3 separate regions of the Homo sapiens genome follow, and regions 1 and 2 are each linked to region 3. Evidence: promoter capture Hi-C in human tissues and cell types (Jung and others, 2019). All regions are on one chromosome and are shown on one strand. Each heading gives the region's core, a stretch centred on a gene start or on the middle of the fragment in contact. The rest is flanking DNA. Distances are from core to core; before and after follow the strand shown.

Evidence for each region. The method cuts DNA at HindIII sites, captures the fragments that hold promoters and counts their contacts. A contact is called where the count stands out against the background at its distance.
Region 1: a contact is called between a fragment that was not itself captured here and the fragment with the promoter of ZNF684 in region 3, in 1 of the 25 tissues and cell types used here (H1 embryonic stem cells).
Region 2: a fragment that was not itself captured here is called in contact with the fragment with the promoter of ZNF684 in region 3 in 1 of the 25 tissues and cell types used here (liver).

What each region holds. Positions count from the first base shown.
Region 1 is chr1:40,721,646-40,724,412 of GRCh38, reverse strand. All of the region lies in intron 1 of NFYC (nuclear transcription factor Y subunit gamma), which reads right to left. Among named protein-coding and RNA genes, the nearest start is that of NFYC-AS1, 31 kb to the right of the region's middle. The HindIII fragment of the contact is 5,530 bases long and covers 1-2,767 here.
Region 2 is chr1:40,392,356-40,395,124 of GRCh38, reverse strand. All of the region lies in intron 1 of SMAP2 (small ArfGAP2), which reads right to left. Among named protein-coding and RNA genes, the nearest start is that of SMAP2, 20 kb to the right of the region's middle. The HindIII fragment of the contact is 3,132 bases long and covers 1-2,769 here.
Region 3 is chr1:40,530,124-40,532,914 of GRCh38, reverse strand. It overlaps ZNF684 (zinc finger protein 684), which reads right to left and starts at 1,278. Exons shown (of 5, transcript NM_152373.4): 1 at 1,128-1,278. LOC124904149 (a long non-coding RNA gene) reads left to right here and starts at 1,369. Exons shown (of 2, transcript XR_007066022.1): 1 at 1,369-1,427; 2 at 1,560-2,337. RefSeq lists an enhancer at 1,184-1,478. The HindIII fragment of the contact is 10,888 bases long and covers 1-2,791 here.

The DNA of each region.
Region 1 (2,767 bases), core at 79-2,578, 190 kb before region 3:
GGAAGACATCAACCCTAATTATTTATTTATTTATTCATTTACTTTTAGACGGAGCCTCAGTCTGTCATCCAGGCTGGAGTACAATGGCACGATCTCGGCTCACTGCAACCTCCACCTCCCGGGTTCAAGCGATTCTCCCACCTCAGCCTCCCAAGCAGCTGGGATTATAGGCACCCGCCATCACACCCAGCTAATTTTTGTATTTTTGAAGAGACGGGTTTCACCATGTTGACCAGGTTGGTCTTGAACTCCTGACCTTAAGTGATCTGCCCACCTCGGCCTCCCAAAACGCTGGGATTACAGGCGTGAGCCACCATGTCCAGCCCCTAATTAGTTTATATTGTCTGTTCATGCTAAACAGTAGAGTTGAAGAGTTACAACAAAAATCATACAGCCACAAAGCCTAAAATATCTGGCCCTTTAAGGAAAAAGGTTCAGCCAGGCATGGTAGCTCATGCCTCTAATCCTAGCACTCTGGGAGGCCAAGGCGGGAGGATCACTTGAACCCAAGAGCTCGAGATCAGCCTGGGCAACATAGTGAGACCCCCATCTCAATAGAAAATAAAAAATAAAAAACTAGCCAGGTGTAGTGGCCCACACCTGTAGTCCCAGCTACTCACGAGGCTGAGGCGGGAGGACTGCTTGAGCCTGGGTGGTCAAGCCTGCAGTGAGCCATGATTGCGCCACTGCACTCCAGCCTGAGCAGGAACAGCAGAGCAAGATCCTGTCTCAAAAAAAAAAGAAAAGAAAAGAAAAAGTTTCAGATAATATTCTGATCTTGTTTTAAAGCACTGTTAGGTGTTTTATTTATCCCTGATTTACTGATGGGGAAACTGACACTAGAAGTTGAGAAGCTGGTCCTAGATCACACAACTGTTACTTAGCTCCCCTGCCTCCCTCACCTGTTCATCCTCAATTAGAAGTAAGCTGGGCCAGACCCCCTCTGCCCCACAGAAGTATCTGTTAGTCTCTCTGACCCTCCAGCCTAACGAGTAAATAAATCCTTGTAGGAAGAATGGTGAGTAACTGGTTTTTCAGGCCTCAATCCCGAAAAGGAATTGTGACATGAGCTAGAGACAGAAAGAGTGCCTGTAGCCTAAGTTAAGTTGTATTCTAAAACAAAGCATCATTTTCTTACCGGGTGCCTTCTGAGATTCACAAACAGCCTCTTGCCCAGTTTCTGGCAGTATCCTGTGTTTGTGTGTCTAGCAGAGGGAAGAAGTGTGATTCTGAAGAATGTTTCATAGATGCCAACTTACGGGCTTCAGAGTTCATAAAATACATGCCACATACATCATCCTCAATTGACCCTTACTTAGCTCAGTGATAAATTTACCAATATTATTCCAATTTTACAGATAAGGTTGAGGGTTGAATATCAAATTACTTGCTCAAGATCACAATACAATAAATGATGAGTCAAAATGCAAAAGCTCTAAAATTCTGTCTTGATTTATTATAACTTGCTCTTTCCCACTTTTTGCACTGTTTAAGCTGTCACTCTTTTTTCTTTTCTGTTTTATCCTTCCCCTTTGCATGTCTCTAGGCAGGTTAGCAGCACCTATGAATACTCAGCTGCGAACAGTTGGGGGCACTAAAGCACGAGGTAAATACATAAATAAATAAAATGTATTGGACCTGGGGGTTCTTAGCTCTCTGGCGAACTGTGATCTTGAGCAAATCTCTTAACTTCTTAGAAACTTCTCTATTCATCTAAAGCAACATCCCACAGAGCAGCTGAAACACACAAATGGTAAAACACATGTTAGAAGGCCTCAAAAAATAGCAAGCTTCATACAAATGCCAGATGGCATCATATCATCATGGCTGCCTGAAGCTAGACAAGACACCAACTACTGGTCTGAAGAGTCCCAGATACAGTACCGAGCCTAAAGACCAACTAGCTTCTTTTTCTCTATAATTTAGACTTACTTTGCTTTTGACATATTTCTTTAAAAAGCCTAGTTTCAGATGCATGGAAATACATATTAAAATAGAGAAAGATGTTCTCCTATCTCTTTTATAAACATGAAATAATTTTTAAGCCCTTTAAACTATTAAATTTGGAACAAATGTACTAGTTCCAAAAAAGCAAAGAATTCAAGCTGAACATGGGAACGTTCCAAATTTAAATCCTTGGGTGTGTCAATGATCAATAGCTATACTAGGTTTTCTCTCCACACTAATCCAAAAACATTTAAATTCTTTTTTTAAATTAATTATTTATTTATATATATTTTTTGGGATGGAATCTCACTCTGTCACCCAGGCTGGAATGCAGTAGCATGATCTTGGCTCACTGCAAGCTTCGCCTCCCGGGTCCACACCATTCTCCTGCCTCAGCCTCCCAAGTAGCTGGGACCACAGGTGCCCACCACCACGCCTGGCTAACTTTTTTGTATTTTTAGTAGAGACAGGGTTTCACCGTGTTAGCCAGGATGGTCTCCATCTCCTGACCTCCTGATCCGCCCACCTTGGCCTCCCAAAGTGCTGGGATTACAGGCATGAGCCACCGCGCCCGGCCTTCAATTCTTAGAATATGTCTCCTTGGGCTGGGAACGGTGGCTCATGCCTGTAATCTCAGCACTTTGGGAAGCCAAAGCAGGAGGATCGCTTGAGCCCAGGAGTTCAAGATCAGCCTGGGAAACATAGAAAGACCTCGTCTCTACAAAAAAGAAAAAAAAATTAGCCTGTGTGGTGGCACGCACCTGTAGCTCCCGCTACTCAGGAGGCTGGGGCAGGAGGATCACTTGAGCCGAGGAGCTGG
Region 2 (2,769 bases), core at 106-2,605, 140 kb after region 3:
CCCCCCACCATCAACTGAACTCCAAACTTCTAAGTATGGCTTAAATTCTCCTGTGATCTGGGTCTTTAATTCTCATTACTCCTCTTCTCACTTCTATACACCAAGAGTGACATCACTTCCTCTTAAAACTGTGTATATAGATGCCACTTGTCATGTTCCTGACTCACAGAGGAATCTGAGAGAGTGAATACTACCCACAGAGACGCACAGGCCTTTTTCTGATTTGGGGATGGGATACAGACAGAGGGACTCTTGGGTGTGGTGAGTCTCTGTTCCAACTAGAGGACCTCCTGACTGCCACAAAAATCAATGTACACATATATCAAAACACCACATTGTATACTGTAAACATATACAATTTTCATTGTCAATTACATCGTCGTAAAAAAGAATTCTTTCCAGTTGGTCCTGGGAAAGCTATGCAGTGCTCTTGGTGGTAGTGTCTGAGAGCTGAGACAAGGCCCAAGTCTTTGGGGGTTTCCCTAGGAGATTCTGGTATGTGCTGCTATGATTGTTTTTATAGTAAAGAGCCAACATATTTTAAGGAGGGAGAAAGAGCTAGCCAAGAGATTTTCTGCCAGTATTGAAGAACCTTGTAAAGTCAGTGAGATGAGACTGATTGCATAAGCCAATGAAGCCCCCAGTTGCTTCCGTTAGAGGCCAGTCCCTTGATGCTACAAACACTGAATAAGATAAAACTTAAAAATCTGAACAGGTCCACCTCTTCCTTTGAGGACAATAGACTTCTTCAAAAAAGAGCAAAAGTGGATCCCCGTAAGTTTTCATTTCATGGAGTGAACTGATGATGGCTAACCTTCAAGACATGGTTACTTGAAGATTCATCAAAATCCTTCCAATCCCTAGTGATTGGCGCCCCAAACACCTAAACACACCGCATAAGAGGAGAACAACTTCTGAGGGAAATGGTAGATGGTGTGATTGAAACACTTATCTTAAGAAAGCTTAGAACTGTCCTCCCAAGAAACCATAGGATGGAAGCAAAGAGTTCTGGAACTAAAGGAAAAAATTCTTGAAAACAAGCATATGAATGAACTCAGTTGCAAATGATAAAGAGAGCCAGCTAAAAATCTATGACTGAAACTCCTGGAGAAGATAGATTTCCTTGCTCTCTTTAGAGCCAATTACATGGATAATGGCAACTTGGAATTGGAAAAAAGGGTGAATCAGAAAATGGAGACCATTTAGATTATTGTCAGAAGTTAATTTGAAGAAACTCATTGATTCTGTTCACGCAAATACTCCTTAAAAAGGTTAGAAGTGGCCGGGCGCGGTGCCTCACGCCTTAATCCCAGCACTTTGGGATGCTAAGGCCGGTGGATCACCTGAGGTCAGGGGTTCAAGACCAGCCTGGCCAACATGCTGAAACCCCATCTCTACTAAAAATACAAAAATTAGCCAGGCATTGTGGCTCACGCCTGTAATACTAACTATTCAGGAGGCTGAGGCAGGGGAATCGCTTGAACCTGGGAGGTGGAGGTTGCAGTGAGCCAAGATTGAGCCACTGTACTCCAGCCTGGGCGACAGAGCAAGACTCTGTCACAAAAAAAAAAAAAAAAAAAAAAGTTAGAAGAACTACTTACACTTTGTTGATCAACTTACAGTCTCTCACAAATAGCTTTACAGGGCCTATTTCCTCTATTTGCAAAACATCTTTTTGTGCAAATCTTGCTCTGCCCACTTTCCCCATGAAGCCTTTTCTCCTTCCTATTCCAACTCCCACGGCGCTCTGCTGCCTCTCCTGCTGCACTCACTCATTTGTGGTTGTTCTGTTGTTGGGTTTTTTGTTTGTTCTTCTAAGATAGGGTTTGTTGCTTTGTTGCCCAAGCTAGAGTGCAGTGCAGCCTCAATCTCCTATGCTCAAGCAATCCTCCCACCTCAGCTTCTTGAGTAGCTGGGACTACAGGCATGTGCTACCACGCCTGGCCAGCTTTTATTTTTGAGAGCTCCTTTAGGTAACAACAACAATAAAATTATACTAATTTAGTATACTTTTTTTTTTTTTGAGATGGATTCACGCTCTGTCACCCAGGCTGGAGTGCAGTGGTGTGATCTTGGCTCACTGCAACCTCCGCCTCCCGGGTTCAAGCTATTCCCCTGCCTCAGCTTCCCGAATACCTGGGACTACAGGTGCATGCCACCACGCCTGGCTAATTTTTTGTGTCTTTAGTAGAGACAGCGGGGTTTCACCATGTTAGTCAGGATGGTCTCGATCTCCTGACCTAGTGATGCACCTGCCTCGGCCTCCCAACGTGCTGCGATTACAGGCATGAGCCACTGAGCCCGGCCTAATTTAGTATACTTTTTAAAAACCTAGTATGACTATTTTGCTTATGTGGATTTAAGTTTTAGATTGCTTATTACAGAAAATCACAGAAAGGTAATTTAAATACCCTAAATAGAAAGTCAAGGAAAAGGGTGTCCTTAATGCTCCTTGTCTCCTGGTTAGCCTATGATATTTCAGCTCCAGCCAATTTCCTTTACACAAAGACCCTGCTTAAAGCATTTATGAATAAGCTGGAAGAGTGGTGGATGAGACATGGCTTCTCTGAATAGGGGAGGGAGGACACAAAAAATAGCTGCTTTCATTGAGGGCAGGAAAGAGATTATTTCATTAGGAGCCAAACAGTGAGACTATCTCAGTACAAACAATTGTTTGGCTTGAAGACTCCATGTGGGTAATTACTCCAGCAAAGGCTCAGCTGGAATGGAACACGGAGCCTGCCAGGACCTAAGGATAGGGACTGACAC
Region 3 (2,791 bases), core at 29-2,528:
TATGTTTCTGTCCTACTGATCTAGCACCAAGTGGTTCCTCTTGAAACAGTTATTTTTTTTCCTCCCAGAAATTTATCCTGAAGAAATAATGAATGAGTTGACTCACTTAAAAGCTTGGTCTCTGAAGCTCCGTAAGTCTAAAAATGATTCCTTCCTGTGATTCTCTGGTTTCTACTCTGACGCTGGGATAAGAGATTGCAAATTAGGTTGGGCTTTCTTGAGAAGGCTGGATTCAGGGACCCAGGAACACTTTTTTTTATTTTTTTTTTGTTAAGCTGGATCCTTCAGTTTAAACTCCAAATGTTTCTCTCTGTAGAAACTCGCCATCTCCTATGAGCTTAGAACTGCTGGGGCTCTAGAAAGGGTATAATGGGCAAACCGGGGACTCACATCTTCATTTACACAGTCTGCACTGGAAGATCTGCAGATACACCAAGAGACTCTACAAAATGACTACAAATCGAAATTTACTCAGCATTCATTGCTCAAACATTTCAGGAGAATAAACCCAACTCTGTTTTATGCAGGAATGCTATACTGTAAAAAAAAAAAAAAAGAAATTTGGAGAAAATGTATCTGAGTTTGAATCTCAGTTCTTCCACTTACTAAGCTGTGTGAGTCCAGGCAAGTAATTTCACCTTTCAGCTTCAGTTAACTCATATGCAAAATGGTAATAGCATTTACTTCAAATGATTGCTGAGAATACCCTTCTAATCCATAGCAGTTTCTCAAGAATGCTTTCTTCCTGGATCCCTTGAAATAGCTTACAGTTTCCACTGGATCCCTTGACACGGCTTAAAATTGTCGCAGGCTCCAGTCGGGCCAACTATGCTCTTGGAACCAGGAAAGGTACAGTTAGATGAACAGACTCCTACATAGTGACCTTGACCTACAAGAGCAGGAATGCAAATTGAGCCTCTCCCAGTCCCACCAGAGCCCTGGACATCTACCCAGTGCCAGTCGGAGCCCAACTCTTGCTTTCTCTCAGCTACTCGAGTTGAACAGGACCCACATATCCAAACCTGAAGTCACTGCGCTTGGAGACTAAAGTTTTATCTTCGGTAGGGTAAACCTAGAAGCCAGTCCCCGCCTTTCTCTTACGTCCTCCGAGTCCAGCAAAGCCATACCTGCCACCCTTTCACTGCCTCGCTCGCAGCTCCGGCTCCAAGCCTGGGATCAGTCACAGCGTCGTCCAGAGACAGGGGAGCAACACCCGCCCGCACTTCCCGCGGCGCTGATTTGAAGATTGAATACCGGCTACCGTCCTACTACGCGTGTGCGGAAGTAACTGTCCACCTAGAGTTCCTGGACTCCTCCCGGGTGTAGGCCATCCGTCGGAGACCACATTTCCCATAAGGCCAGTGGAGCTCGTTTCCGGAAGACGTCAGACGCTGCTTCCTCTTGGGGGGTGGTGCGGAGATTCCCGGGTTGGTATCTCTATTGCTAGCCTGAGAGCCACGCTTTTTAAGTCGTTTTCATTTAAAAGGATACACAGCATTTTTAAATACTGGAAAGTAAAATCGGCGGTATGCTAAAAACAATTTGCTCTTACTCAGCAGGGTTTCTTCTAGCAATGCACCAGGTTAAGTCGGAGAGGTGAAGAGGATCCAACAAAGAAGACTGAGAAGGAATAATCCATGAAGTAGATGGAAAAGTAGGAGAGTTTAGATCTGCAAAACCAAGGGAAGGAAGTGTTTCAAGAAGGGAGTGACCCATTGTCTCAAATGTTGCTCATAGGTCAAGTAAAATGAGAATTAAGAATGGGCCACTGTAGCAATGGTCACCAGTGATGTTGAAACGCCATTTTGGCAGTGGTGGAAGTTTGATAAAGTCTGATGAAAATTTGATAGGAGTTGGAGGGAAGGATGGGAGGAGAGGAAATGGAGAAAGCAAATATACGCAATACTTTTAAGAAGTTTTGTTTTTAAGGTGAGCAGAAAAATAAGGCTATCATGGGATAGGGATTTTGTTAATCTTTTGTTGTTGCGTTTTTCCACGTTCTAATTTTTTTTTTTTTTTTAATTCAAAGATGGGGCTGAGTGTGGTGGCTTATGCCTGTAATCCTAACATTTCAGGAGGCCAAAGTGGGAGGATTGGTTGAGCCCAGGAGTCTGAAACTGCCTAGGCAACATAGTGAGACCCTCATCTCTACAAAAAATAAAAAACTAGCCTGGCATGGCACCCGCCTGAAGTCCCAACTACTTGAGAGGCTGAGATGGGAGGATCGCTTGAGCCCAGACAGTAGAGACTGCAGTGAGCCGTGATCCCGCCACTGCACTGCAGCATGGGCGACAGAGCTAGTCTCTGTCTCAAAAAAATAAAATAAAAAAGATGGAAGAAATTATAGTAAGTTTATGTACTAATTAAAAGGATCTAGGCTGGGCGCAGTGGCTCACGCCTGTAATCCCAGCACTTTGGGAAGCTTAGGTGGGCAGATCACCTGAGGTCAGGAGTTGGAGACCAGCCTGGCCAACGTGGTGAAACCCCGTCTCTACTAAAAATACAAAAATTAGCCGGGCGTGGTGGCAGACGCCTGTAAACCCAGCTACCTGGGAGGCTGAGGCGGGAGAATCACTTGAACCCGGGAGGCAGAGGTTGCAGTGAGCCGAGATCACACCACTGCACTCCAGCCTGGGCGACAGAGCGAGGCTCTGTCTCAAATAAATGAATTAGTTAATAAAATAAAACAAAAGATCCAGTAGAGGCGGGAAATACACAATTCAGGATAGACAGGCTAGTTACTCGGAGGAATGTCCTTGAGAAGAGAAGGGATGGAATCCAGTACACAATC